Regions from separate parts of the Homo sapiens genome. Here all the other regions are linked to region 1. The links are contacts of gene promoters, found by promoter capture Hi-C in human tissues and cell types (Jung and others, 2019). All regions are on one chromosome and are shown on one strand. Each heading gives the region's core, a stretch centred on a gene start or on the middle of the fragment in contact. The rest is flanking DNA. Distances are from core to core; before and after follow the strand shown.

Region 1 (4,156 bases), core at 805-3,304:
GATCTTTAAATGTTGGGATTTCGTGAGGCTCAGTAATCAGACTTCTCTGCTCTTCTCCATCTACACTCACTTCCTTGGTGCATATATATATATATATATATATATATATATATATATATATATATATATATATATATATATATCACAGCTCACTGCAGCCTTGACCTCCCATGCTCAAGTGATCCTCCCACCTCAGCCTCCTGAGTAGCTGGGACTACAGGCGTGTACTACCACACCCAGCTAATTTTTTATTTTTTTGTAGTGATGGGATCTCACTCTGTTGCCCAGGCTGGTCTCAAACTCCTTGCCTCAAGTGATCCTCCCACCCCTGGCCTCCCAAAATGTTGGGATTATAGGAGTGAGCCACTGTGCCTGGCCCCAAAGTTATATTTCCAGGTCCTTTTTGCCTAAACCCTACGTATGTACAACATCCTAGTCTGTATCTCTGCTTGATTCTAAAAAGCATCATAAACTGAATCAAACCCTTAATATTCCCCCACCAAACTGCTTTTGTAGTCTTTTCCATTTCCTTGTTTTAGTAAATAGAAATTCTCTTCTTCCAGTTATCAAGCCAAAAACATTGGAATCATCCTTGAATCTTCTTTCTCTCACAGCCCACATCCATTGCGTCATTCTGTCTTCAAAATATATCCAGAATTTTACTACTACTCACCACCTCCGCCATCACCCTTATCCAAGTTACCATTAATTTTCACCTGTATTATAATAGTAGCTTCCTGACTCTCATCCGGATTACTGTAGTAGCATCTTACCAAATCCTGCCTGAAAGGCCAAGCAATGTAAGGGCTGACAGATGACTCGGGGATTCGGCAACGTGGAGGTCACTGGCAACCTTCACAAGATTGCTTTCACTGGAGTGATAGCCCTCGAAGAACGGGATAATGATAGAACTGGATTACACTCTGTAGTAGAATCTTTTTTTTTTCTTCTTTTTTTTTAGATGGCGTTTCACTCTTGTTGCCCAGGCTGGAGTGCAATGGTGTGATCTTGGCTCACCGCAACCTCCACCTCCCAGGTTCAAGCGATTCTCCCGCCTCAGCCTCCCGAGTAGGTGGGATTACAGGCCATGTGCCACCATGCCCGGCTAATTTTGTATTTTTAGTAGAGACGGGGTTTCTCCATGTTGGTCAGGCTGGTCTCGAACTCCTGACCTCAAGTGATCCGCCCGCCTCGGCCTCTCAAAGTGCTGGGATTACAGGCGTGAGCCACCGCGCCCAGCCTGTAGTAGAATCTTTACGCTCCCTAGAATGTATTCGCCTTCCTGATCTGTTATAACTCACCAAGAGAATTCCCTTTTCAGAGCCTTTGCACTTGCTGTTCCTTCGGCCTGACCACCCTTCCTCCAGACAGTCACATCTACCTGTTATCGTTCCTGAATTCTGGTACCTGTTAATGACAGCTTCTGAGAGGTTTCTTTTATCGCGCTATTTAAAATAGCGCCTCCCACTCTCTATCCCTGTGTTTTCCATAATTTTTCTTCAGAGCTTTTATCACTATCTGAATCTATCTGGAGCTCCCCCAGCCTACACACACTGGAATGTAAGCTCCATGAGAGCAGGAGCTTTGTTTTGCTCACCCCTGTATCCCCATCATAAAACCATGCCTCACAAACAGTGGGCACTCAATATCTGTTCAGTGAATAAATAACCTTTGTCTGAAACGTATGTAGTTACATTACGTATATAGATCACCACTTAGTAAACCGTCTGGGAATAACAGGCACTCCGAAGGCCCCAGTCTCATCCCGACGGCTACCACGTGACCTTCCTGAGCTTGGGTTTCCTCCTCCGGAAGATTAGAGGGTTGGCGCATACTCAACTCTAAGACCTCCGGAACATGGAATCTGGGCGTGCACCATTATTGACACCTACACCAGCCGTCCCTTTCTTAGAAGACATACGGTAGCACTTCCACCCTCGCTCAAAACTCGGGAAAGGAGGGGCGGAGGGTGGATGTCATCACTCCGCGCCCGGCTGCCCGCGACGCGCCGGCGGGTGGCGCAGCCCTTCGCTCGCCCGGCCTCCCCCTCCCTGGTTCCGCGTTCTGGTTCCGCCATGGAATCCAACAAGGATGAAGCTGAGCGCTGTATCAGCATCGCCCTCAAGGCCATCCAGAGCAACCAGCCCGACCGGGCGCTCCGCTTCCTGGAGAAGGCACAGCGGCTGTATCCGACGCCGCGAGTTCGCGGTGAGTGTGAGGTGCCGGAGAGACTGGGGACATTAGAACTGATGGGGGGAACACGGGAACGGACCGACGGGAGCAGTTGGGGGAGGGGGAGGGGTGGCGAGGCGCGGCTACGCCTGCGCACTGAGGCGCGCGGTGGCTGCTGGGAGGCGTAGTTTTTCCCTCTTGTTCCTCTGCGGGATGCGAGCCGTCTGGAGACTCGGGCGGCCGGGACTTCAGCTTTCGGGGTGCTGGCGGAGCCCGCTGGGGTTTGAGGTCTCCGAGAATGAAACGCGCTGGCAGCCGGGACGAAGGGAACTTACCTGGAAGTGAACTCGAACTACTTTTCCCAAGGGGCCGTTCGGTAGCCCAGGCCAGTCGCCGGCCTGGGAAATATTACAGTTCAGGAAAATAAACATAACTCCTTTAAGGGAGAGAATGGGCGCTAGACAGGGAGACATTTCTGTTCTTCGGGCGCCAGGGAAAGGCGCTTCCGTATCTTCACTCCCTCTCACCTCTCGGGCTGAGGGTCAGGGACCACTCTCCCAAAATGCAAGCCGGCCTTTGCACCCACCCCAGTCCGCCGCCTCGGACTGTCCTGAAGCCGGGCCCCTCACTCCTCCCGATGATGAGATTCGGAGCGGGTGGCCTGGTGGGAGGTGCTGACCTCAGCCACCGCCAGTCCTCCATCGCCCGCAAGAGTCCAGCGGCGGTCAGCCATGTGGACGCCGAGGCTGCTGAGTTGCCCTGGACAGGAGCCTCCTGAGCCAGGGAGGGAAGAGTGAAGCTGGCTTTACAACTCATCACCTCGCTTCACCCGGGAACCCTTTCTTTTTTCTTTAACCTAAGTTTTCCAAGGAGTTTTTCTTAATCCACGCTAGAGGGGAGAGAGACACCGGGTGGTGCTTGTGATCACCACTCAGTAAACCGTCTGGGAATAACAGGCACTCCGAAGGGCCCAGTCTCATCCTGACGGCTACCACGTGACCTTCCTGAGCTTGGGTTTCCTCCTCGGGAAGATTAGAGGGTTGGCGCAGATAATGTGATTGGCAATAATACCCATAGGGCTTTGCAGTTTAGGAAGCTCCTTCACCTGTGCCTTCTCACTTGAGCCTGCCAGTCAGGGATGCAGAGCAAAGATCATTATCTTTATTCTATGGGTGAGGAAAATCTCTGAGGTAAGGGATGCCCAGGATGACACAGCTAGAAAGTAAAATGTTCTGTGACTCTGTAAATGTTTATGAAGGAAAAGAAATGAAATTGAGGAACAGCAGTCAGCCTCCTAACCGGCCCTGCCCGCCTGATGAGATTGAGAAAGCGGAACGCTGGTGGAAGAGGTAGCCTGGACTGCTGAACTTTCCTCCCTCCGGACTCTTGCAGGTTGATCTTTGGCCTGTTTGCCTCCCCTTGGAGAGGGTTTCGGGCTGTATTTGCCAGGACACCTGAGGTAACCTGCTCGAGGAGCCTCCCTGTGAATTAATTCATATTCTGTGGTGGGGTGGTATCCTCCAGCTGTCAGAATTCTGCCTGACACTGATGCTGCTGCGGGCTCAGGAGCAGGCAGCCAAGAAAGGATGGGCCACAGGGCCTCTGGGGATCTTTCTGTCAGCAGGCCCCTGCACCAGTTCAGGAGCTTGAAGGAGTGTCCTCTCTGGGGCTCAGGCTCTGGAATTTGCTGAGACAGAAGAACCACCTGCATGCATATTTGTCATATTTGTGCTTTTCTGGAAAGACTATGAGACTATACGCCTTATGCATCCGTGTAAACTTTACCATCTGCAGCCCTCCACTGAGCTGACAAAGACCTGGGATTAGTTTAGGTCTGGGACAGGGAAAGATCTTACTTCAAAAATAGAGGGCAGGGCTACCCACTGGGCTGGCTACCTGCCTCCCCAGGGGGAGTAATACAGATATATTAGGTGGCGGTCTATTGCTTTGGGTTTAGGCTCATCCCAGATGCTCATTCAATGCA
Region 2 (4,085 bases), core at 1,468-3,967, 360 kb before region 1:
TGATGAAAGAGGAAAACAAATTCACCCCATCTCTGTGTGTCCGGAATATAAAAAACTGATAGAACCCTAACAAACAATGAAGAAATAAGAAACATTTTTTAAATTAAAAAAGTCTTAGGCCATCCACTAGTTTCAGGCTTTCACTAGTTTCAGAAACAAGTTTACAAAATTTAGAAACCTTGAAGTACTAAATTAAAAAAAATTCTGGTTCATTTGCCAAGCCACACAAACTCTTTGGTTTAGAGGTTCTGTTTGAAAATGATTGGAAATCATTCCAAAACAAGAAAAATACAAAAGGCCCTTTCACATACCACTATCTCCTCTCCCCATACCTATACTTTTCACGGTAAAATAATTTGTGAAAATTACTACAGAAGTATAATTTGTGTAGTTAGCAAGAAAACCAGCACTAGCGAGGCGGGCAGATCACCTGAGGTCAGGAGTTCAAGACCAGCCTGGCCAACATGGTGAAGTCCCATCTCTACTAAAAATACTAAAACTAGCCGGGCCTGGTGGCAGGCACCTGTAATCCCAGCTACTCGGGAGGCTGAGGCAGGAGAATCACTTGAACCTGGGAGGTGGAGGTTGCAGTGAGCCGAGATTGCGCCACTGCATTCCAGCCTAGAGAACAAGAGTGAGACTTCGTCTCAAAAACAAAACAAAACAAAAAAAACTCTCCCATTACTGGAGGTTCATTCCTGAGGCACTGGAATCTATCAAATAAAAAAGGCAAAAGTATTTTTTCATTCTAATTAAGTTTTAGCCAAAAGACTATTATACCACCCCTAATTAAAATATGCTTAAAATTGGTCACCATTTGTAACAATCTTCAAATTGTACAGATCTCAAATAATTTAATGAGAATGGAAGATTCACTGTTAATAGCATATCTGGCCAGACTTATATCTTGGGTGCCTAACTAACATTTTAATTTTGGCTTGTGTTTGCTTGCCGTAGCGACAGTCCCTGGAAACCATCCAATTTATTAGTGTTTCCCTTGCTGCCTCAGCATTTCTGGTTAATGCACTACAGCAAATCATTTGGAGGGACAACCTGAATGAAGCTCTGCCCTGTGTACTCTGCAAAAATGTTCAAACCATTATCAAGAGTGTTGGAAATGAAAGACAACAGCATGAAATTGAGAAGATAAAATTTTATCAGAGATTGTCTTTTTAAAACAATGACTTCAAAGTAAGAATATACATTGACTAATATGTACAGAATTATTATTAAAACAAATATTTATTTCACACCAACTACCTGTCTCAAAAAGTATGTCCCCTCATTTCTAGACCTTACTTTTCTTTTGCTTGCCCCATAAAACCACGACACAATTCAAGAACAGCCTTTTTACCATAAAAGGCGCATCTCCTTTTACAAAATAAAGCAGATAGTACCCAAATTGCAGATAATTCCAAACACACAGAAAAGAAACAATGAATTAATGCCAACAAATTTCCACCCACAGCTTGTCTGCACTTGAAATATCTGAGAATTTTAGTAACCCAGGCTTTTGTTGCAGCAGCTCAATCCCCCACGAGCTCACTGTTTTGTGGCAGATGCTGCTCTGTATCTTGTACAAGACATGTTCATCTATGTAATAAAACATTCTTCTTCTCTGCCTTCTCTCAGGAAGTACAAAGGATTTTCCCAGGAATATGATAAACGAGGACATTCCACACCAAAAAAGGAAAACTGGTTTTGAAAGTCAAAACAGCATTCCTAGTCTAACTTTAAAAATGACATAATAAATTCCTTTTTCCTGTCCCCCAGAATATTCAGCAAAAAGTCTGTCAGTTAACAGAGGTTTAAATATATGAAATAGAGACAGAAACGCCAAAGTAGTTAAAAATGAATGAACCAGAACCACATGTATCAACTAAATAAGTTTTTTTTTGTTTTTTGGGTTTTTTTTTTTAAGAAACACAGTCTTGGGCAGGGTGCGGTGGCTCATGCCTGTAATCCCAACACTTTGGGGGGCCAAGGCAGGCGGATCACGAGGTCAGGAGATCGAGACCATCCTGGCTAACACGGTGAAACCCTGTCTCTACTAAAAAATACAGAAAATTAGCTGGGAGTGGTGGTGGGCGCCTGTAGTCCCAGCTACTCGGGAGGCAGAGGCAGGAGAATGACGTGAACCCGGGAGATGGAGCTTACAGTGAATGGAGATTGTGCCACTGCACTCCAGCCTGGGGGACAGAGTGAGACTCTGTCTCAAAAAAAAAAAAAAAAAAAAAGAAACACAGTCTTGCTCTATCCCCAGGCTGGAGTGCAATGGCCCAATTATAGCTCAGTGTAACCTCAAACTACTGGCCTCAAGCAATCCTCCCACCTCAGCCTCCCAAAGTGCTGGTATTATAAGTATGAGCCACTGTGCTGGCCTAATTTTTTTTTTTTTAAGTATTAAGAGGGAAAAAAAAAAAAAGGCCAGGCGTAGTGGCTCATGCCTGTAATCACAGCACTTTGGAAGGCCGAGGCAGGCAGATCACTTGAGGTCAGGAGTTCAAGACTAGCCTGGCCAACATGGCAAAACCTCATGTCTACTGAAAATACAAAAATTAGTTGGGTGTGGTGGCACACGCCTATGGTCCCAGCTACTCAGGAGGCTGAGGCAGGAGAATCACTTGAACCCAGGAAGTGGAGATCGCAGCGAGCCGAGATCGCACCACTGCACTCCAGCCTGGTTGACAAAGGGAGACTCCATTCCAAAAAAAAAAAAAAAAAGATTTGCAGAAGGATACATACAGTGTAATACTTTTTTTTTTTTTGAGACAGAGTTTCGCTCTTGTTGCCAGGTAGAGTGCAATGGCATGATCTCGGCTCACTGCAACCTCTGCCTCCCAGGTTCAAGCAATTATCCTGCCTCAGCCTCCCAAGTAGCTGGGATTACAGGCGCCCACCACCATGCCCAGCTAATTTTTGTATTTTTAGTAGAGACAGGGGTTTCATGATGTTGGCCAGGCTGGTCTTGAACTCCTGATCTCAGGTGATCTACCTGCCTTGGCCTCCCAAAGCGCTGGGATTACAGGCATGAGCCACTGCGCCCGGCCAGTTTAATACCTTTTAAATAAGGTTTTAAAACATTCTTACAAAACTATATAAGATAGGTGTAGATAAAGGATAAACACACTCATGGGATGGTAAACATCAAATTTAAGAGAATGTTACTTTTGGGAGAGAGGTCTAAGGAATGGTACTTGGGGGCAGCAATTATAATCATAATGTTCAATTTCTCAAGCTAAAGGTTGTATATTATATTATTCTACTTTTTATAGACATGACATACTTCACAATTTAAAAATAAAAGATTTTTGTCCTTGTATGTCTGATTGAACATAATGTAATTTCCTTATAAAGGACCACTCCACCTCCACCAAAAAAAAAAAAAAAAAAAAAAAAAAACCTTAGGTGATGGAATGGCCTTTCCAAGTGAGCTCCTTTGACAGCATTCCCATCAGTAGTTTACCTTCTGCCTTTTCTTCCACTAGTGCTATGACTGTCTAATGCTGGCTGTGATGTGACCTTCGGATCCATAACTCAGGGTCTCAGATTGTCTCTACTTTTCATCTTACAAAGAACACCCATTTTAGGCAAGAAATCTATTATAGTTTCCTTTCATTTTCTACTTTCTCATGTTAAAAGCTCTAGAATCATTAAAAAGAAAGCCATTAACCAGGCGCTATAGCTCACACCTGTAATCTCAGCACTTTGGGAGGCTGAGGGGGGCAGATCACGAGGTCAGGAGATCAAGACCATCCTGGCCAACATGGTGAAACCCCATCTCTACTAAAAAGTACAAAAAATTAGCCGGGCATGGTGGCATGTGCCTGTAGTCCCAGCTACTCAGGAGGCTGAGGCAGGAGAATTGCTTGAACCAGGGAGGCAGAGGTTGCAGTGACCTGAGATCGCACCACTGCACTCCAGCCTGGGCGACAGATCGAGACTTCATCTCAAAAACAAAACAAAACAGAAAGCCATTATGTATTTAAAGTTCACCCAACTTTGTGGCAGTTGGCCACACTAAGAACTTGAATTCATTCTGAATCGAACACCAATGCAGGATGAGACATTAAACTTAAAGAAAG
Region 3 (3,927 bases), core at 1,266-3,765, 500 kb before region 1:
AGTATTTATTCTACACCGAAAGTAATGATAAAAAGTCTCAATAATATAAAATGTGATTGATTGTTCATCCTTGCTCATGGCATTATATGTGAGCTGCTTTTGAATGAGATTCCCTGTGCATACACATTTGCTAAAACCGATCAATTATACTCTGAGTACCACTGGGAGAGAAATCCCTTTCTCTCCTGGTAAGTGCTAAGCAAAAGAAAAAAGTTTTCTGAAGTTAACAGTATAGGGTTCTTTTGTAGCTACGTGTGTGGTGTATGTATGTGTCTAGAAATGGTGTGGGGTGAAATGAGGGATAGATGGTAATTAATAATGATGGTGACTATACCTGGTGAATAGATAGCAACTCTGTCAATTCCCCGATCCTCTTCTTGCAGTTGTCGTAAAAATACACCAACAGAGTCAGAGATAGGCTTGAGTGTGAACTGACAGCGTTCACGCCGGGATGGTAGCCTCACAGATATCACAGGTAACCCATTTTGATAAACCACTGTAACATCTGAATGAAAAAGACCCACAAACATATGATAATTGGATTTCAATGTAAGTTAAAGTCACATTATTACCATTCTTGCATGGGGGTCTATTATTAGTGTGATTTAAAATGTTTTCAAAGAAGGTTTAAGAACATGCCCTTTAGCTTTAGTTGAAGGTTATTCTGGGAACTGGCTTATAAAAGATCAAATGGATCACATAGCTCATTTTACAGATATGAAAAAACAGGCAAGGAACTGTCTTCTGAGTGGGTCAAGGAGAGGCTTTCCCAAGGATATCAGGTGAAGTTCTTGATATTGGTGAATACAAGCCCTGGTTCCATTTAGCAAGATTTTATTAAGCAGTCAGAGATTGCTGGGCTAGACTTCATAGCCTGTAGGACGTGGCTCTCGGGATCCAGAGCTTTCAAGAAGTACACTAATAAGTGAGACTCTTACTCCAAAACAGTCAATTCATGTATATATAGTACAGTATTATATCCAAGCTGATAAGTGAGAAACAAAAGTGAAATCCTAAGCCCCTCAACTGACTGAATGGACCCCCTCTTGGCCAAGGGGACCCCAGGGTAAACCTTTAAAGCTAAGTTCTCAGCCATGACAGGATGGGAGGTCAGACACAATTCATTATACCCCTTCCTTGCTAGCCACCATTAGGCATTCTTTCCTAAGGGCTTAAGAGAAACTAGCCCTTTCAGAAGACTCCACCACTGATATCAACCAATTAACTGACCAACACTGCCCCTTTTTTTTGCCTGACAAGAGGCCACCGACCGTGGAGTGGTTCTGGCCAGTCTACAGAGAATGCGCAGTGAGGGTTTTCACACCCTCTGCTTCATCTTTTGATGCCAGAGAGCTGAAAACTCCACCCTCAGATCATGCTGACGCAGCCATTTTTTGTACACGGGACCCATGAAGGGGCATGAAGATCAGTTGTGCATACACACATTTCTCCTTTCATAAATATGCATGGCCTCTCCTATAGCGTACTGAGTATGTATATTTGGCCACCCTGCTCAGCATGCATCCTGTTCTTTTTGCCTCTTCCTCAAAGTGTCTGTTTTTGGCTTCTGAATGGAGGCTACACTTCCCAGCCTGTCAGAATGGCCACCCTGCAGCCTGCAACCTTTATGAGAAATATAGGTCTCCTTTCCAAATTTATGAACCTCGCCATTCTTCAGTTGTCATAAGTTAGCATTCTATCAAAAACAATTCATGTTCTCTTGAATGTCTTCATGAGCTTGGCTAGACAGAACCAAAACTCAGATGTTTAAGATTTTATAACAAAATGTTATGAAGGGAAAATTTATTATGAACTATTAAATTGAAGGGATCTTCTACAAAAGTATAGCATAGAATGCCTATTTCCTTATTTTCTCCCTCAGTATTCTTGATTTGTAGGGTCCCAGTAGAACAACTATCAAAATAGCCCTCTTTTGGAATAATTTTCACATACATTTTTTTAAAAATGCATTTTTAAAATAAAAAATTTTTACATAAGCAACTGAGCATTTAAAGATGATGTTAGCACTGAGGAAAGAAAACAGGCTTTGGAGTCAAATATGGGACTGAACCTTGGCTCTGTAATTTTGGGTGTATTATATAACTTCTCTGAGCCTCACTTTTTTCGTATATAAAATGGGCTTTGGCCAGGCATGGTGGCTCATGCCTGTAATCCCAGCACTTTGGGAGGCCGAGGTGGGCAGATCATGAGGTCAAGAGATTGAGACCATCTTGGCCAATGTGGTAAAACCCTGTCTCTACTAAAAATAAAAAAATTAGCTGGGCATGGTGGTGCACGCTTGTAGTCCCAGCTACTCGGGAGGCTGAGGCAGGAGAATCACTTCAACCCAGGAGGTGGAGGCTGCAGTGAGCCAAGATCGCGACACTGCACTCCAGCCTGGCAACAGAGTGAGAATCTGTCTGAAAAAAAAAGGGGGGGGTTTAATCCCTAACTCACAGAGCTGTTGTGAGAAATGAGTGAAATACATAAATAATTTAAAACACTTAGCATATTACATGATACATAAATGATAATGTTTCCTTACTAGCTTCTTTGAAGAATCAAAAGTTGACCAGATGTGGCGACATGTGTCTGTAGTCTCAGCTACTCAGGAGGCTGAGGCAGAAGGATTGCTTGAGCCCAGGAGTTTGAATCTACAGTGAGCTATGATTGTGCCACTGCACTCCAGCCTGAGCAACCGAGTGGGACCCCATGTCTAAAACCTTTTTTTTTTTTTTTTTTTTTGAGACATCTTGCTCTATCACCCAGGAGTGCAGCGGCATGATCACAGCTCACTGCAGACTCGAGCTCCCAAGCTCAAGCGATTCTTTTGCCTCAGGCTCCCAAGTTGCTGGGAACTACAGGCGTGCACCACCATGCCAGGCTATTTTTTTTTTTTTTTTTTTTTTTTTTAGAGACAGGGTTTCACCACGTTGCCCAGGCTGGTCTTGAACTCCTGAGCTTGAGCAGCGACCCACCTTGGCCACCCAAAGTGCTGGGACTAAAGCCATGAGCCACTATGCCTGGCTTCTAAAAACAATTTTTAAAAATAAAGTAAGAGTCAAAAATTACATTCTATTATGCTTCTAAGGATTTATATCCCTACTAATCAAAGAGTTTATAGCAAACATATGTTAAGATTAATGTTTTGGAAATCCAAAATGCATCAAGCTTTCCATAGTTGTAGTTGTAGACATTTACATCTTATTTCCTTGTCTATTCTAGTAATTCATAAGGCCTACATTATATACAAAATCTTCACACTAAAATCTTTCATGATTTGAATTTTCAAGAAATAAACCTAATTGAGACATAGTTTATAAATAACAAAATACATTCTTACTTAAAATGGAAATCTGATGAGTTTTTACATAAGAATCAAAATAAAGAACATTTCTATGATTCCCCCAAATTCTCTGATCCCCATCCCAGTTAATCCCTGGGTAACCATTGATCTGATTTTGTCACCACAGATTATATTAGGTTTTTATAGATTTTTATATAAATAAAATCACGCTATGGACCCTTTTATATCTGGCTTCTTTCTCTTGGCATGATTATGAGATTCACCTATGTTGTTATTAGTAGTTCATTAATTAACTAGTTCATTAGTAGTCATTCATTTGTATTGCTGAGAAGGGTGTCAATGCATAGACACACCACAACTTGTTTATCCAGTTGACGAACATCTGGGTTGTTTCCAGGTTTTGGCTACTATGAATAAAGCTTTTATGATTATTTGCATACAAGCCTTTGTGTGACATGTTTTCATAGTATATCTTTCCCTATCCTTTTACCTTATCCATGTTTTATTTAAAGTGAGTTTCCTGTAGAAAGCTTATAGTTGGGTCTTGCTATTTTATCCAATCTAACAATCTCTGCCTTTTAATTAAAGTATGTATATTATTTGCATTTAATGTAATTTAA
Region 4 (4,114 bases), core at 1,066-3,565, 400 kb before region 1:
TCCCTATCCTGTTTTGTTCCGATCTAATTACCAGTGCATGCAGCCCCCAGTCATGTACCCCCTGCTTGCTCAATCAATCACGACCCTCTCACACGCACCCCCTTAGAGTTGTGAGCCCTTAAAAGGGACAGGAATTGCTCACTCGGGGGCTAGGCTCTCGAGACAGGAGTCTTGCCGATAACCCTGGCCGAATAAACCCCTTCCCTCTTTAAGTTGGTGTTTGAGGAGTTTTGTCTGCGGCTCGTCCTGCTACAGATGAACAGAAGTACTATTACCCTACATGCAGACTTGCGGAACAGACATAAAGAGGTTCAGCAACAAACCTTAATAATACAACTAAACAGGTACAGAGCTACAAACAGAACTAGAGCCTTTTTATCTTGAAGCTCATTCCATTAAATAATACTGCATTTTTCAAACCTTATTCTAAGTGTATTATCATTGTCTTATTCCACACTACTTATTAATTCTGTCTTAAAATTGTGTTTCCAATAGAAAATTTAAGTAATATTACGGAAAAGAGAGATTTTTTAAAAGCCTCAAACACTAAATTTCTCAAAGTCAAGAAAATAGATTAAACAGCCATGAAAACCATGGTTTAATTACCTTTATGATTCTGTGATTTCTGCTTTTAGGGAAAGCCAAAAAAATTGGCCCATTCAGCAAAAGCATTGGTTTATTTCTTGACCAATACTCATCAATTAATCTAATCCACCCACAAGCAGCCTGAAGTAAATTAATTCTAGTAACTGAAAGTTGCATATTCATACTTTCAGAAAAAAGAAATAGACTGCCTTAGTAACTATTTCCCTTTCTCTGGGTGGCAGTTTCTCTGAGGTTTCATACATACACCATCAATTCTCTGAGATTTTACACACCGTCTCTCTGTGTACCAATACACAACTGTATCTGTGGACATGATATAGCACAGAGGGCTGTAAAGGAAGCCAGAATATGTCACCCCAAAATATTCCTCTTTGACATAAATATTTTAAACCGAAGAAGCAGGTGCAATGGCATGTGGCTGTAGTACCAGCTACTCGGGAGACTGAGATGAGAGATCACTCGAGCTCAGGTGTTTGAGGCCAACCTGGACAACATAGTTTTAGACTCTCTTAACCAAATCTGTGAAGAGGGAGTTGAGAAAAATTAATGAATAAAGGAAGAGCTCTTTCTATCCTCCTCTCCTGCTTTTCTACCTAAAGATATAAATTCTCCTTTACTGGAGACAACTTATCAACTCAGATATGGCACCAGAGGGATCACAAATCTTACTCCACTAGTTTACTGCCACATATTTACTTTTCCTTCCCATAGTTCCCCACCTTTAGAAGTGTTAACCTGCTTTTCTTTGTCTTGTCACTTCTGGAAAATTCATTGCTCTTTGTTGAAGATGCTACATAGGCAAGTGTTCTAAGCCACTGCTTTGAATTACTTCTCACTGAGGTTTCTCCTGCATCATGTGCACTGCACACGTGAATATACACCTGCTTGTTTTTCGCTTGTTAATCTGTCATTTGTCACAAAGGTCTGTCCCCAACTATGAACTTATGAGGGTTAAGGAAAAATTATATTTCTTCTCTGACAATTGCTTCAAAGAACATTCTCATGGGGGAGGGGGACAGAATTATTTAGTTGGGGAAAAACACTGGCTTATATTATCAAATAACTCTTCAAATTATCTCTTCAGACCACTTCAGCTAGCTAGGCATAAATTCTTTCCCTCTTTAGAGATTAAAAAAAAATTATTATGAACTAGGTGATGTTACTCCAATTTTTATGGCCTTTTAAAAAACTACTTTTATATTTTAGCACTGACACACAGGCTCGCACCTCTTAGAAAAAGTAAAAAGCTTCCATTCAAAAACTAGCAATTTTTACAGAGCTTTCTGTATGTTCTTTGGGTGGGGGTTGGGGAAGTAGGAGGAAGAAGGAGATGAAGCACACTGTACTTGTCCCAAATTATATTTTCCTTTTTCATGTTTTTCCCTGAAACAATATTGTTTGTACTCCTTATACAATAATGTCACATCTCCCTTGTTTCTTCAGCTGGAGGAGGTGGTGGTGGTGATTCCCGTTGCTAATCTCTACATTACCTCACCATCTCCTATTTGGCTCTCAGCTCTTTCACTATCTGCATTATAATTTTCCCTCATTGAATTCCTTCTGTTGTAAATGCCTGAAATGGTTTCTGTTTTCCTTGTGAGACCCTGACTGATAAAACCACTCACTTGACAATGTGCCATTTACTGCTTTTTGAAATGTTAAGTAGCTTTTTCATACACTTATGTACTTTCGTATGGTTCTTTTCTTTTTTTTTTTTTTCCTTTTTCAAGATGGAGGTCTCATTACGTTATCCAGGCTGGACCCATACTCCTGAGTTCGAATAATCCTCCTGCCTCAGCCTCCCAAGTACCTGGGACTACAGGTGTATGCCACTGAGCCCAGCTTCACATGGTTCTTTTACAAATAAAAAGCAAAAGCTTGAGTTGATGAACTCTGAGATCAAAACTCTTAACTTTCCAGTGCTAAAGATGGCAGCAGGGGGCAGGGATTGTGAGGAGGGGAGCTGGACACGGGGGGCGGGGCATAAAACGTCAACAGAGAATGTCAGGGAACAAAATAGATGGCAAACACTAACTTAAGGTAATATGCTAGCTATGCCAAAGTAAGGTCAAATCAAGGAGTCTCCTCAGATTGAGCTCTTCTTTGAATATGGCAAAACTACTACTAAAAACAAATCAGAAGGTGTACTGACCATGAATACAGCAAGCAATGATTATGCTATCACAGCCTCCAAGAGCAATGAACTTGCATTCACCCAGTGAATTATGCAGTTTCTCCTGAGAGGCCCCCCAAATTGGCTAATGACTCAAAAGAAAATTTTTATGTATAAGTAATTGTTAGTGGCTATAACCTAGAGCAATCTACTGAAAAATGTAGTTCTTAAATGCTAACAATCCAAACATAGATTGATAACACAACATGGTACAAATAGTATTGTTTCCAAAAAAGAAAGAGAATACCATACGGCCATGTAAACCTCTTTTAAAAACTGATTTTGGCCGGGCTCACACCTGTAATACAGTACTTTTGGAGGCTGAGGCAGGAAGATTGCTTGAGCTCACGAGTTCAAGACCAGCCTGGGCAACACAGCAAAACCCTGTATCTAATAAAAACACAAAAAATTAGCCAGGTGTGGTGGTTCACACCTGTAATCCCAGCACTTTGGAAGCTGAGGTGGGTGGATCCACTTGAGACCAGGAGTTCGAGACCCACTTGGGCAACAAAGCGAGACCTTGTCTCTACAAAACATGTAAAAGAAAACAATTAGCTGGGTATGGTGGTGCACACCGGTAGTCCCAGCTACTCAGGAGGCGGAGGTGGGAGGACTGCTTGACCCTGGGAGATTGAGGCTGCAGTGAGCTATGATCATATCACTGCACTCTAAGCCTGGGTAACAGAGAGAGAGACTCTGTCTCAATGAAAAAAAAAAAAAAATGGTTTCAATTGGGCTAATATCCCTAAAGCAAGTACTCTGGCACAACCTTTGAAAACTCTTATCTGGCAAAAACAACAACAACAACAAGGGTTGAAGAGATGCCATATTTAGATGATCATTTATCTATTTATGCTTCCGCCGTTCAAATTGCTTTGAATTACAGGCTACAAGTGCAAACTCATAGTGATCTAATATTAATAACAATAACAACAGTTAGCACTTAAATAGTACTTAATGTATTTACTATATTTATGCGCAAGGCACTATTCTAAATGCTTCATGTATTTAACTCATATAGTACTCACAACTCATTGGATAGGTATAATTGTTCCCCACTCTACCATCAACATTACACACCAGGCTTAAAGACATAAAGTAAATTGCCCAAGCTGGCCAGGTGGGGTGGCTCATGCCTGTAATCCCAGCACTTTGGGAGGCCAAGGCGGGTGGGTCACCTGAGGTCAGGACTTCAAGACCATCCTGATCCACATGCTGAAACCCCGTCTCTACTAAAAATACAAAACTAGCTGGGCATGGTGGTGCATGCCTGTAATCCCAGCTCCTTGGGTGGCTGAGGCAGGAGAATTGCTTGAACCCGGGAGGCAGAGGTTG
Region 5 (4,050 bases), core at 632-3,131, 460 kb before region 1:
GCTCATAAAAAGACACTGACTCTAAATGTTAATTTCCAAGTTGGCTGGTCAGCTGTTGCTCACTAGCAGTCCACAGCTAGCTATATATCATTTGAATTTATGTTCCAATGGGTTCTACCTGCCTTGCCAAAAGCTCTCATTTCAGCTTCCTATGGGGAATCTGTTTGAACGAACTCTTGCCATGAGTCATCCTCACAGCATATATAAAAAATCCAGAATGTTGGGCTAGGACACTGGGCTAGGAACTAGACTGTATTCTAAATGCTGGCAGCAAGGAACCCTCATGTTATTTAATGTTTAGTACAGCTTAGAAAAGACAGTGATGAAAGTGATCCAGGAATCAGAGGTGACAGTTAAAGCACATCTTGAAGCACTAAGCCACAGAGATGATTAACTTGTCAAGCTGCATATTTTTGAATTTACTCAGGGCTGGATACTCCTCTCCACCAACCTCCCACAGGACACTAAAAACCGGACAACATAAAGCCAAAGCATTTGATAAAACATTACATAAAGCAGTAATGGTTTGAAGAAAGCTTACTTCCTCTTTACATTGCTTTGCAACAATTTGCTTCTGTAAGGATAGAAAGTTATGTCAGAAAACAGCCCTTTATGTCAGAAAACAGCCCTTCATGATACTATTTTAAAGCATATCTCAATAATGAATACTAAAGATTACTCACTAGAGACCATCCCTGAGGTTCCTTTGTCCTTTTGCATCATGTCTTCAACCACTAAATCTCTGCATAGAATTCTGTTCTCTCTGGTCACTTTTCTTCCTTTTGTACTCTTTTGCTCTGCCCACTGTCTCCACCTCATATCAATAATGAAGTATAAGAAATCTGGAGTATGGGCGCAGTGGCTCATGCCTGTAATCCCAGCACTTTGGGAAGCCGAGGCGGGCGGATCACCTGAGCTCAGGAGTTCGAGACCAGCCTGGCCAACATGGTGAAACCCCGCCTCTACTAAAAATACAAAAATTAGTTGGGCATGGTGGCAGATGTCTGCAATCCCAGCTACTCGGGAGGCTGAGACAGGAGAATTGCTTGAATCGGGCAGTGGAGGCTGCAGTGAGCCGAGATCACACCACTGCACTCTAGCCTGGGCAGTAGGGCAAGATTCCCTCTCAAAAAGAAAAAAAACAAAAAGAAAAGAAACCTTGAAATTACAAATTAAAAGCATTTTACTCTCCATGTTAAAAAAAAAAAGCACTATAAACATCCAAAATGAATAGGTAAATAATATTATTTCCTAAAATACATTCAATATAGGAAACTGTTTTCAAGTGTATCTAGTACATAAATGACAAGGAACACAGGGTTGGCTGAATAAAATTTATTTTTTAACTAAACAAGAAGGAAGATACAGGGAAATGTTTCTGAATATATCTGTAATAAAGGAAAAGACAGCATTCAGAATTCTATGTATATGAAAATAATACTGAAAAAGCCAGTATGGTCTTTTGGTAAAATTCTTTTCAAAACATGTTATCTTGAGAAATTATCTTTTATCTTCAAAGATAAGTTAGTTAACATGAAATTTATTTTGCAAAAATTCAAAACATTATCATTACTTAGTCTCTTAATACAGAGATAGAAGAAAATCATTAAATGATAAGCTCAAAGACAACTTACACATTTTAATTAAGTGGGCCTTTTCAATCAAACTAAACTGAGTGAAAGATTCCTTTCCTCTTGCTCTGGAACTCTAATGTCATTGAAAGAAAAGCAAAGAGAGATTGAGTAGCTGCTTAGTTAAGAAAAGAAAATCCAATTGTAAGAATAATCTGAAGGGACCCCACAGGTCTTACAAAACAAGTCTTATTATTCAGATTAGTAGAGGACCAAGTCTATTGGTTATATTGGCCCTCTTCTCATTGAACAACTACAACAGACACAAAAAAATGTTTGTCATAAAAATGTCAACTCACTTCAACAAAAAACACACATGAACACATTAACAAGTTCGCAACAAATTCTATTTTGGCTCATTGCGTCTAGAATGCAACTATCCTTTAACATCAATAACCTTTTTCTCAAACAACAGCCACCACAACCGAACTGAAAAGGCAATCTAGACTTAAATCTTATCAACTATTTTATAGCCTATCTTTCCTACATTATAAATTACGCATTTTCGCCTTGAGAAATTGGCAGTAAAAGATTCATGTTTATTTTGGTTCAAAGGGTGACCCCAGTTGGTAAACTAATAAAGTATACACTGAATAGCTATTTCTAAAAGCATGTGCTGAGCAGGTTGGAGGTTTCTTACTGGATATAACCAATAGAAGTTACCAAGTCTTTTCAATATTCTCCAGGCCTATTGTCCTTTCTCTACTATCTCCATACTCAGTATAAGCCTTATTTTAACTATGTTCTCTGGCATTTTGGTTTCCTTGACCTCCTAGACCTACTGTGCCAATCCTTACTTTCTGGTAAATTTATTTCATCAACTCCTGCTGTGGGATAAAGCAAGGCCTATGAGAAAAAGGCAACACAGACCAGGCGCAGTGGCTCACACCTGTAATCCCAGCACTTTGGGAGGCTGAGGCAGGTAGATCACCTGAGGTCAGGAGTTCAAGACCAGCCTGGCCAACATAGTGAAACCCTGTCTCTACTAAAAATACAAAACAACAACAACAACAACAACAACAACAACCTAGCTGGGCGTGGTGGCAGGCGCCTGTAATCCCAGCTACTTGGGAGGCTGAGGCAGGAGAATCACTTCAACCCGGGAGGCAGAGGTTGCAGTGAGCCGAGATTGCACCACTGAACTCCAGCCTGGGCAACAAGAGCGAAACTCCGTCAAAAAAAAAAAAAAAAAAAAAAAAAGGCAACATAATTGTCTTAACTGATGTCACTACAAAATCATGTTACTCACTAAATGCTTTCACATATGTCAGTGGACTCTCAGACTTCTTCCCTACAGAAGTTGTTCAGAACTGTTTCCTGCCTCTCAGTCAAAGACGTCACCTCTTATTTTACTGAAACCAGTAAAATAGGAAATTTCTGAAATTCACCCTCACAATTCCTCTCTTCTCCAACACCAAGTTTCTCTCAATTTTCTTTTTTTCTCTTCTTTCACTCTAACACAGGGAAAGAAGTCTCCCCACTCCTTTGCAAGGTGAATACCTTTACTTCTTCAGTTAGTTCTTCTCTCTTGCATCTTTAATGTCTCCAACTTCAATAGCTCCTTTCTCCAACCTTAGACATGTCTAGTTCTACACTATGTCCACCCCCATACACATATGTTCACGCGCACACACATACAAACACACACACACATGCACACACAGAAGCCTGCCTTCACTAATCCTACTTCCCACTGATATTTTCTCATTTCTCATACTATTATGCCTTCTTGGAAACATTTGATACTGCTGACTACCTCCTCCCTCCTGAAATTCTTTTCTTTGAATTCTATGACACTCTAGGAGTTCCTGAATTTACTTCTTACTCTACTGTCTTTGACCACTTCTATGTCTCCTTTATTGCCTTCTTGCTCTTCCAGCTATCCCCAAAATACTCATCAAGGCTTATTCTTTGCCCTTGTTTTTTCATACTTATTCTGTTTGGAGAGCTCAACCTTTCTTAGAACTTCAAGTTATTATCTCAATGAAAATAATGTCTTGAGTCCTTTCTGTACTGATTTTCAGATTCAAATTTCTAGCTGCTTATTAGAATAGCTCTATCAAATATACCTCTAAGTCCCTGAAGTAAAATATGTTCCCAAACCTGCTCCACTCCAATGTTTCCGATTTCAATTAATTGTACGTCAAACTTTTTGGTCAGTCTCTCAGGCTTTAAGACCCATAGCCATTTTAGAGTCTTCACTTTGTACTCCCAGCCAATTCCAAGTCTCATCAAGTCTACCATCACCCTTTTTGCTTCTTTTTGTTCCTTCTTTTTTCTATGAATATTAATATAATTCAGTGGTTAAGAGCAGAGGCCCTAAAGTCACAAATGGATTTGAATCCCAGCTCTTCCATTTATTAGCTTTGTGGTTTGGAGCAAGTTCCACTGACTGCCTCAAGTCTTAGTTTCTGTTTAG
Region 6 (4,203 bases), core at 670-3,169, 430 kb before region 1:
AGAACAAGTGCTATGGGAAATAACCTAAATACCTAATATTCTACCAGTGATGGCATGTTTCCAGGAGGATTAAATTTAGTGAGAAAACTGAAAAAGCAGTGCTTTTGTGCTTCAAAATACTTTATTTATTTATTTTTACTTATTTATTTATTTTGAGACATTGTCTCGCTCTGTTGCCCAGGTTGGAGTGAAGTGGCACAATCTCGGCTCATTGCAACCTCCACCTGCTGGGTTCAAGCGATTCTCCTGCCTCAATCTCCCGAGTAGCTGGGATTACAGGCGCCTGCCACCACGCCCTGCTAATTTTTGTATTTTTGGTAGAGACGGGGTTTCGCCATGTTGACCAGTCTGGTCTCGAACTCCTGACCTCCACGTGATCTGCCCGCCTCAGCCTCCCAAAGTGCTGGGGTTATAGGAAAGAGCCATGGCACCCAGCCATGCTTCAAAATAATTTAATCCCAACAAATCTGTAAATTAGTAACTTACATTCCAGTTCTTCCAATGAGAAAACTGAGGCACACAGAGCACACAGAGCTAAGAATGAGCACAGCCAGGATCTGAAATCAAATATATCTGATTCTCAACCCATCTCTTTTTACTATGTGACTCATTTTTAGGTAACAAAAACAGTAACTTCTCACTCTATGTTGATGTGTTCAAGTATAACACAAGAAACAGGATAAGGACATTAAAAAAACAAACTAGCCAGAATTCCACAAACAGCTAGCCAGAACTACATTAACTAAACTGGATGACATCTCTGGACATCAATCTCACATATAATGAAATGATCTCCACAGCAAATCGTTCCTTTATGTATTATCCTATTCTTGAAATTTTATTGCACAGCATAATACCGTTTTTTCACACAGTGCTTGTTCAGTCCCTATTCTACGGACAATCTTCATCTCCTCAAATTGGTAAGCAACACCTTGTAGGCAAGGATATGTTATTCTTTAGAATCTCTAAAGCGTGCAATACATTCCCATAGTATATATTCAGTAAACACCTATTAAGAGTTGCTGGGCAATACTCCTTTGATTTCTATAAAAATCTCCTTTCCAAAAGGATTTTCTTCATCCATTTCTACTACGACATTGACAATTGACACTAAATTAAAACAAGTAGCTATACGTACATAATAATGTTTTTCTTGCAAATTAAACCAAGATGAAAATTGCAGCCCTTGTAAGGGTCTTACTACAGATACAAGTTACAGATGAAGTGAGCCTTTATTTCCATGAAATGAGCCAGCAGGAGAATTTTACATAAACACTAAAAGTGAAAAACTTGCAATTCTGGACTATGAGCCAACACACAAAAGAAGCTCATTTCAATCTGTCAGATAAATGCCTACTCAACAAGCATGACTTCCTGGAATATATTTGGCTATTTTATATTCTGTTTCCTTAATCTGCCACTAACTGTGACAATCTCAGAATGTTTTTGAACTTTAGGATATATTTCTATTATGCACATTTTTGAAAACTCTAAAATGTGTTTTAAAGATGCATGTCTGACTAGTTTCTGCATACCACAGGGAAGTTCATTAACCTAAGTGGTAGGGGGCAGCAGGAGGGGAGACAGGGAGACAACAGAAGCAGGGAAAGAGAAAGGAGAAACAAAGTTGTAGCTTTGGTAAACACCACCACTAACCTTGTTGCAGAGACACCAAGGTTATTAGAAAAGTGACGGCAGTAGCACTGCCAGGTTTGGCTGGAGCAGCCACCACTACCACTTGCTTCGCCGACTGTGTAATATATGTGGAAATGTGGGAGATTCTCGTGCTACATCATGAAACTGCATCTGTATGCTAAATATCTAGAGACAGGAAGAGCCCTGGAAAAGGAAAAGAAGAGCAATCCCTGTACTATGTAGAAGCCTAAAATCCTTGACAACGCAAGATTCTCCTTGAACAGCTCTATCAAGCAAGTAAAAGACACACACACCAGGAATTGGTTGACTGGTGCTTTAAAATCATTATCCATGTGTGTTTTGCTCCTCACTCCAACAAGGGCATTATATAGAGCTGAGAACACATCAGCATTTAGGAATTTCCCAAAATACTCTTGGTAGGAGGGATTCCCCACACCCAAGCCCATGAAAAGGCAAAGCTGCTCTGCAACTTACTTCAGCCAGAGAGGCAGGGTGCACAGCCAGCCCTCACTCACACACCCACGCACACATACGGACAGGCTTTCCCTAGCATCCTGCACTGAAAATGAGGAGACTGTTCCCTTGACTCCCTGCACAGTGCCACATTAACATTTTCAGAAGCTACTGGATACACAGAAGGCTTTTCCTGACAAACAAGGACATCCAGAGATCTAATCCCTGCTGACAACTGCTTTGTGGAACTTTCTGTCCTTTTCAGACATGCCTACTTAAATCTATTCTTTAACCTCTCCTGCAACCAAATGTAGCCAATTAAAAATTGTACTTACCTTCAACAAAATGGGAAAATTACTCACAGCTACAAGGTGGCTTGATTTTAAGTAAATGAATCACATTTATATTAGCTTTAAAAATCACAATTACTATTTGCATAAGACACATCCTTCTAAGAGATCTATCAAAACAGAGCAACATTTTCCAAACGTGACAGTATTAATTTGATAGGATCTGAAAAAACAAAGCCTTTGTACTTCCCTTTTAGTGAAATTCAAAGTAATCTCTCTGAATTACATACTCTTTATATTGTTCTCAAGAGGGAGCAGAAGAAAATCTTCTTTTGGAAAATGTCATCCCCTGAGAGATCCAGGTAAGTGGGCATTCATCTTTGCAGTACAACATGAGGGGTTAAGCAAGGAGCTACACCATCCAACGGTGCCCGGCTTTCCCCCGGCTTCACTTGGATCAAGCAGCAGGGTTAATTACGTGGAACAGCCAAAAAGGTAAAGTAACTGGGTATTGACTTTTGGGGGCTGGTAATTTCTATAGTGCCTATGGCTCTAGACTTCCTAATAAGCTTTTCCTTAATCTGCTTTTGAAACTAAAGAGTCAAGAACAAAGTAAAACAATTTTTTAAAAAGAAATAAAGAAAGAAACAAGCAACATCCTCCCCACTCCCCAACATTTGGAGCTAATCATGGGGAAAATCCTTCCTATAGGCATTTGATTTTAGGTACTTGTCACATTTTCTTTCCCAACTCCACTCCACCCCACTCTATGCGTTTTTCTTGGCATGATCTCTCTCCCTTCCTTTGAGAAAATAAACTGCATTTGCTCTATATTAACACTTCAGATACAACAGCTCCCCCCAACAAAATCCTCTCTTTATCCTGGAAGGTTTAACTTGACATGTTTTTTTCCTCAGAAGAAACCAGGCTAGAAATCCCAACACTGCTCCACTAAGTAAACTCTCCTAGGAAGAGAGGATTCACATGGCATATGCAAAGCCTCCTAGATGCCAAAGAGTTGAATAAGTGGCACATGGCATATGCAAAGCCTCCTAGATGCCAAAGAGTTGAATAAGTGGCATGTGGCAGTTCCACACCTGAGTCCAAAACACATCCCTTCAAAGAGCCACCAGTGTGATGTCCTCAATAATATTCTAAAATGAATAGCATCACACTGTTTTGGACATGAAGGTGATGGTTCTGAAAGGATAGGAAGGAATGTAAAACATAATCTATTTTAAAGTATCTGGAGGCTCTACATATAATGTAACTAGGTGGTATGCCTATGCCAGATGATAAAATCTAATTTGAAAAGTCTACACATTGACATTCTCTACCAAGGTGGAGCACACACAATGCGGTGGTTTCATTCAAACTATTCAATGAAGTACTTAGGGTGAATATTGATTATGCTTAAAGTGCATTCCACAAATACTTCAAACAAACTGAGTTATTTCCTTTTTCCATGGCCAGAAACTCCCTTCGCATTTTCCTATAGGAAGCTTAAATATAAGCTCTCATATTTAAGCCTCAACTGATTCTGCAAATTGCTCAGGTTTGCCTTAGGTTCAGTGAAAGACATAACCAGTCACAAATATTTCTAAACTCCTTCTGCAGGATGTTGGCTCACAGTAACACAGCTGCACTAGAATCAAAATAACTTCTGAAGCTACTGGCTTTGCTGGACAAGATACGAATAATACATAAGCCCTATATGCAAGAAACTAGTGAGAGGAACTAGACACACATCCCTGTAAAGTTAAATAAGCAAACAAAAGTTAAAATGAGTTCCACAGAAGAGGCA
Region 7 (4,233 bases), core at 1,078-3,577, 380 kb before region 1:
CCAGCTGGCAAACAGGGTGAAACCCTGTCTCTACCAAAAATACAAAAATTAGCCAGGCATGGTGGTGTGCACCTGTAATCCCAGCTACTCGGGAGGCTAAGGCAAGACAATCACTGGAACTCAGGAGGCGGAGGTTGCAGTGAGCTGAGATCGCACCACTGAATGCCAGCCTGGTCTCAAAAAAAAAAAAAAAATCTTAATGTTCTTCATTGGCTAACTTCATATACCAAGCCTACTTTTAGAGGAAAGAGGCTGAATAATCACATACCCCTAAAGCGGTACCCCTGGAAAAAGTCAGACTTTGGGAACATAAGAAGTTGGCTTTCTTTAAAACGAAAAATGTTTCTCTGTTTCATAAACAAAAAAGGCCTGAAAGACTACTCCCAGGAAGACCATTAAAATGCTGAATTCACCTAGAACTAAAGTTAACATTTTAAAGCTGGAATTCAAAGGAAAAAAAGCACATATATAGTCTGACTTTTATAGCTTTTCCAATTCCCAATACAGGATTTTTAAAATCCTATTTGATGCAATACAATTTAACGAGATTCCAGTTGTGCTAAAAATAATTCCAAATGTTATTTTTAAAGTGCACTGAAAGGAACGGTCTATCTCAAATTCAAATATATGAACTTCACAGTAATGTAAACTGGTCATTCCAGCCTTTTCTTTTTTGAAGATTAGTCACTAGTAGTCAAAAAAAATGTTAAGGCACATTACACCTAGACTCTCTCAATTCATAGTTTCTACTTCAATAACTTAATTATAATTTATTATACATCTATAATATATAGCACATCACTGTGGCATGACATTTAAACCATACTGTTCACACTGTATAAGTGCACATAGTTATGTGTCTTCCCATACATAACCAAATATGTTTTTGGCTCTAGTTGAATATAATAATGAGAAGAGTGTCCTAATAATAGTAAAAACAAAAGAGTTGAAGCCTTAAAAAAAACCGAGCATTTTGACCAGTAGAAAAGGAACAGGAGGATATCCCACACAAAAAGATGTGAACAAAGTCAGAGAACCATAAGGCACATCTCAGGAATCTAGCACAGCAAAAGGCTCCGTTGTAAAAAGGAAAGGAGAAAAAAATAGCCTGGAAGGCTAGACTGAGTTCAACCATCAAGGGCTTTCAATACCAAAGTTCACAGATTTCAAGCTTCATTGTCCAGGCAACAGGCAACACAGGATTTTAAGCAGAGGAGTGACCATTATAAACTGGGTGCCAAATATAGCATTTCCACAGATAAGAAACTGTAAGTTTTACATAACATTTCCTTTGGCTTTGTTATTTATAAACCTTAACTATTAAAATACGGGCTGAGATGTCAACATCACAGCTATCAGCACTCAACATTTCTTTTCTCAAGACAATTAAAAATCCACATTTCCTTGTTTAGCATAAACTTTCTAGAAAGGCTCTTTGTTTTTCTGCCCCATTTTATCTAAAACAAATAGCACAAATCAGAGGAAAAGAGTCTTTTCTAACATTTGTTCAATCTAAAAGCTAAATCCAGCATGTAGGATATACTTACTTTATTGCTATACCATGATTGGCTCTCTTCTTCACTCCAGGAGGCTATTTTTGATTTGTTGGACATATAAGTAAGGAAGAAAGAGTGGGAGCAATTTCTCAGAGCCCCCAGGATACTTATTAAGTTTACTCCAACTTCCCCTTCACCTTCCCCAAATAAATTCTTCTTAATTACTATAATTATTAGTTTTGTTATATTTACAGAATTTGAAAGCTTTTTCCAGTGGTTTTTACTTAGACTGTAACTCTGTTCCCAGTGTCCAGTCTAGGTTTTCTCATTCGTTTAAAATATTTATCCAGCTACATTAACTCCCAAAAGCCTGTAAGTCCTAAAGACTACTAAAGCAGCAATTGTACCTGAAGATAACCGCAACAATACCACTGCTCATCCCTGCTCCCATGCCAACTTAAAAGCAGAAAGAATACGGAGTTCCTAGGAATATAAGAAACAGCTTGTTGCCCTGGTGCCTATACAGCTCACTCTTGAACTTCAAGTCAAAGGTAAGAAACAGAAAAAGGGGAAATAGGCTGGGCATGGTGGCTCATACCTGAAATCCCAGCACTTTGGGAGTTGGGGCGGTGAGGATCACTTAAGGCCAGGAGTTCAAGACCAGCCTGACCGACATGGTGAAACCCCATCTCTACTAAAAACACAAAAACTAGCCAGGCATAGTGGTGCGCACCTGCAGTCCCAGCTACTTGGGAGGCTGAGGCACAAGAATCACTTGAACCCAGGAGGTGGAAGTTGCAGTGAGCTGAGATCGCACCATGTCAATCCAACCCAGGCAATAGAGCAAGATACCATCTCTGAAAAAAAAAAAAAAGGAAAGAAAAAGGGGAAATAACGCGCCAACTTTCCTTCTAAGGAATTCATACATGGCTGCTTCCCTTACCCCCTCTCTTTACATTTCAAATTATCGACCCAATACAACTAGACTATATGCTCTTTAAAGTCTGGGGCCCAGGCCTAGCAATGGGCATTTTACACAGAAGGTACAGAATAATAATTTTTTGAAACAAGTATTTCTTGAATTGAGGTTTCTGCTCATCTATTATTACCACTTTTATTCCTATAATGTTAAAGTTTCTGCTATTAACATTAGTGACTTCTGTTCTTTCTTCCTGACCTCAAAGACACTACCATATCCAAGAATGAAAACTCATGACTGGAGAATTTGAACTACACAACTACTATGGTATCAACAACCGCTATAGTATCAAACTGAAGTTTAGAGAAAGCAAGTTAAGAGTCATATTCAAGAAAAATGTCTGTGGCCATTTAGAGTTTAAACCACAATTCATATACCCCACACGCTTCACTAACAAGACTAGAAAGCTTTTGGGAACACTGTAGTGAAGTATCAACAGTCTTACATAAACTTTTTTTAAACATTGAAAGCGACCAGCCTGTGAAAGCTCTTTTAGCAAATGCTAACACATTTTTCCTAGCACTACCATCTCAAACACCAAACAGCTTTATGTTGACAGCACGCAACAATGTCCAAGATTGTCCACCATTTAGACTGCTAAATGCCTGGCCTAAAAAATCATCAAAAGGGCACTATTGAGCTAAGGCAAAGGAAGCATATTAATAAATCTCTTTACTGACAAAATGTTACAGATTTGTTAAGTACATGAGAGAACTACAGCATTTAAATAATCAAAATCCTAAGCAAACATTTACTAAGATAATAATGGCAGGAGGAGGTGTGGCTCAGTTTCTGTTTACGATCTATTTACTAAAGCAGCTTAGCAACATTTATCCTAAACATACCCAGGATGCAAGTGTTGGTCATAATCCTTCTTTCCTAATAAGCATAAAGGGCCAACCCTTGGTCTCTGGGGGATATAACAGAACCATCTGGGGAAAAACAAAAGATGTCTGGGTTAGAAGGAAATATTTTCCTAAGAATGCAACAATTTTTTCCACTCTCACTTCCTTTTAGGACTAAACCTTTAGACAGGGGTACTAGGCAGCAGCAGTCAGGGCCTTACTGTCTAGTTATCTGATAATCCAAACCTTGGAGATGAAGGTAAATCTGAGCATGCAGAATGATCTGTAACAGCCCAGCTAACTTTCACTGTCACCAGCCAGATCAACTACAGAAAAGAATAAAGGCTAATGAAGCAAATCAGTCTTCCAATGGCAAAAAAAAATCCATATATCCAACGTCCATGAATACACAAATCTGTCAATAGAGGGTTTTAAACACTTAAATTGTTTATAGTAATTTACTAAGTTACTTTTGAAAAATTGTAAAGTATTAATTTGTGTTGATTTGCAAAACGAGAATATTTTTTGCATCAATGTCACTAGCCAAGAAACAAGTGTTTACAACTGTTTTAATAGAGCAATATATACTCATTGTAGAAACTAAAATTAAATACAGAAGTACATAACATGGGAAATGACAGTCTCCTATCCCATCCCCTAGAGACAACCACTATTAACACTTTAAACCCCAGTATTCTGCAATGTTCTATGATTACCAAATATTAATATCAAGGTTGAAGATCCACAAAGATATTCTATATAATTAGGCACCTTCTCCACTCCTGTACCCAACTAGTGAAACTAAAATAGTCTACAATGTCCCTGCCAAGTGTTCATCCAGCTTCTGCTTGAACAAATCTTGTGACATAGATCTGATTACCTCCCAAGGCAGTCCACTCTACCTTACAACAGC

What was found. Contacts are between HindIII fragments. The study calls those that stand out against the background at their distance.
Region 2: a contact is called between a fragment that was not itself captured here and the fragment with the promoter of DNAJB12 in region 1, in 2 of the 25 tissues and cell types used here (lymphoblastoid cells and stomach).
Region 3: a contact is called between a fragment that was not itself captured here and the fragment with the promoter of DNAJB12 in region 1, in 2 of the 25 tissues and cell types used here (H1 embryonic stem cells and spleen).
Region 4: a fragment that was not itself captured here is called in contact with the fragment with the promoter of DNAJB12 in region 1 in 1 of the 25 tissues and cell types used here (heart right ventricle).
Region 5: a fragment that was not itself captured here is called in contact with the fragment with the promoter of DNAJB12 in region 1 in 2 of the 25 tissues and cell types used here (lymphoblastoid cells and mesenchymal stem cells).
Region 6: a contact is called between a fragment that was not itself captured here and the fragment with the promoter of DNAJB12 in region 1, in 1 of the 25 tissues and cell types used here (dorsolateral prefrontal cortex).
Region 7: a fragment that was not itself captured here is called in contact with the fragment with the promoter of DNAJB12 in region 1 in 1 of the 25 tissues and cell types used here (dorsolateral prefrontal cortex).

What each region holds. Positions count from the first base shown.
Region 1 is chr10:72,352,817-72,356,972 of GRCh38, reverse strand. It overlaps DNAJB12 (DnaJ heat shock protein family (Hsp40) member B12), which reads left to right and starts at 2,054. Exons shown (of 9, transcript NM_017626.7): 1 at 2,054-2,208. The coding sequence starts at 2,076. RefSeq lists enhancers at 1,828-2,077, 2,468-2,597. The HindIII fragment of the contact is 25,714 bases long and covers 1-4,156 here.
Region 2 is chr10:72,709,861-72,713,945 of GRCh38, reverse strand. The region is part of intron 1 of MCU (mitochondrial calcium uniporter); the gene reads right to left. Among named protein-coding and RNA genes, the nearest start is that of MIR4676, 9.1 kb to the left of the region's middle. The HindIII fragment of the contact is 7,468 bases long and covers 1-4,085 here.
Region 3 is chr10:72,855,755-72,859,681 of GRCh38, reverse strand. It overlaps MCU (mitochondrial calcium uniporter), which reads right to left. Exons shown (of 8, transcript NM_138357.3): 3 at 335-505. Among named protein-coding and RNA genes, the nearest start is that of OIT3, 36 kb to the left of the region's middle. The HindIII fragment of the contact is 7,322 bases long and covers 1-3,927 here.
Region 4 is chr10:72,755,227-72,759,340 of GRCh38, reverse strand. All of the region lies in intron 1 of MCU (mitochondrial calcium uniporter), which reads right to left. LOC124902450 (a long non-coding RNA gene) reads right to left here. Exons shown (of 2, transcript XR_007062189.1): 1 at 1-4,114. Among named protein-coding and RNA genes, the nearest start is that of MIR4676, 36 kb to the right of the region's middle. RefSeq lists an enhancer at 1,913-2,412. The HindIII fragment of the contact is 4,389 bases long and covers 121-4,114 here.
Region 5 is chr10:72,809,243-72,813,292 of GRCh38, reverse strand. The region is part of intron 1 of MCU (mitochondrial calcium uniporter); the gene reads right to left. Among named protein-coding and RNA genes, the nearest start is that of OIT3, 82 kb to the left of the region's middle. The HindIII fragment of the contact is 7,136 bases long and covers 1-4,050 here.
Region 6 is chr10:72,782,697-72,786,899 of GRCh38, reverse strand. All of the region lies in intron 1 of MCU (mitochondrial calcium uniporter), which reads right to left. Among named protein-coding and RNA genes, the nearest start is that of MIR4676, 64 kb to the right of the region's middle. RefSeq lists a silencer at 3,235-3,529. The HindIII fragment of the contact is 4,735 bases long and covers 1-4,203 here.
Region 7 is chr10:72,735,659-72,739,891 of GRCh38, reverse strand. All of the region lies in intron 1 of MCU (mitochondrial calcium uniporter), which reads right to left. Among named protein-coding and RNA genes, the nearest start is that of MIR4676, 17 kb to the right of the region's middle. The HindIII fragment of the contact is 4,157 bases long and covers 249-4,233 here.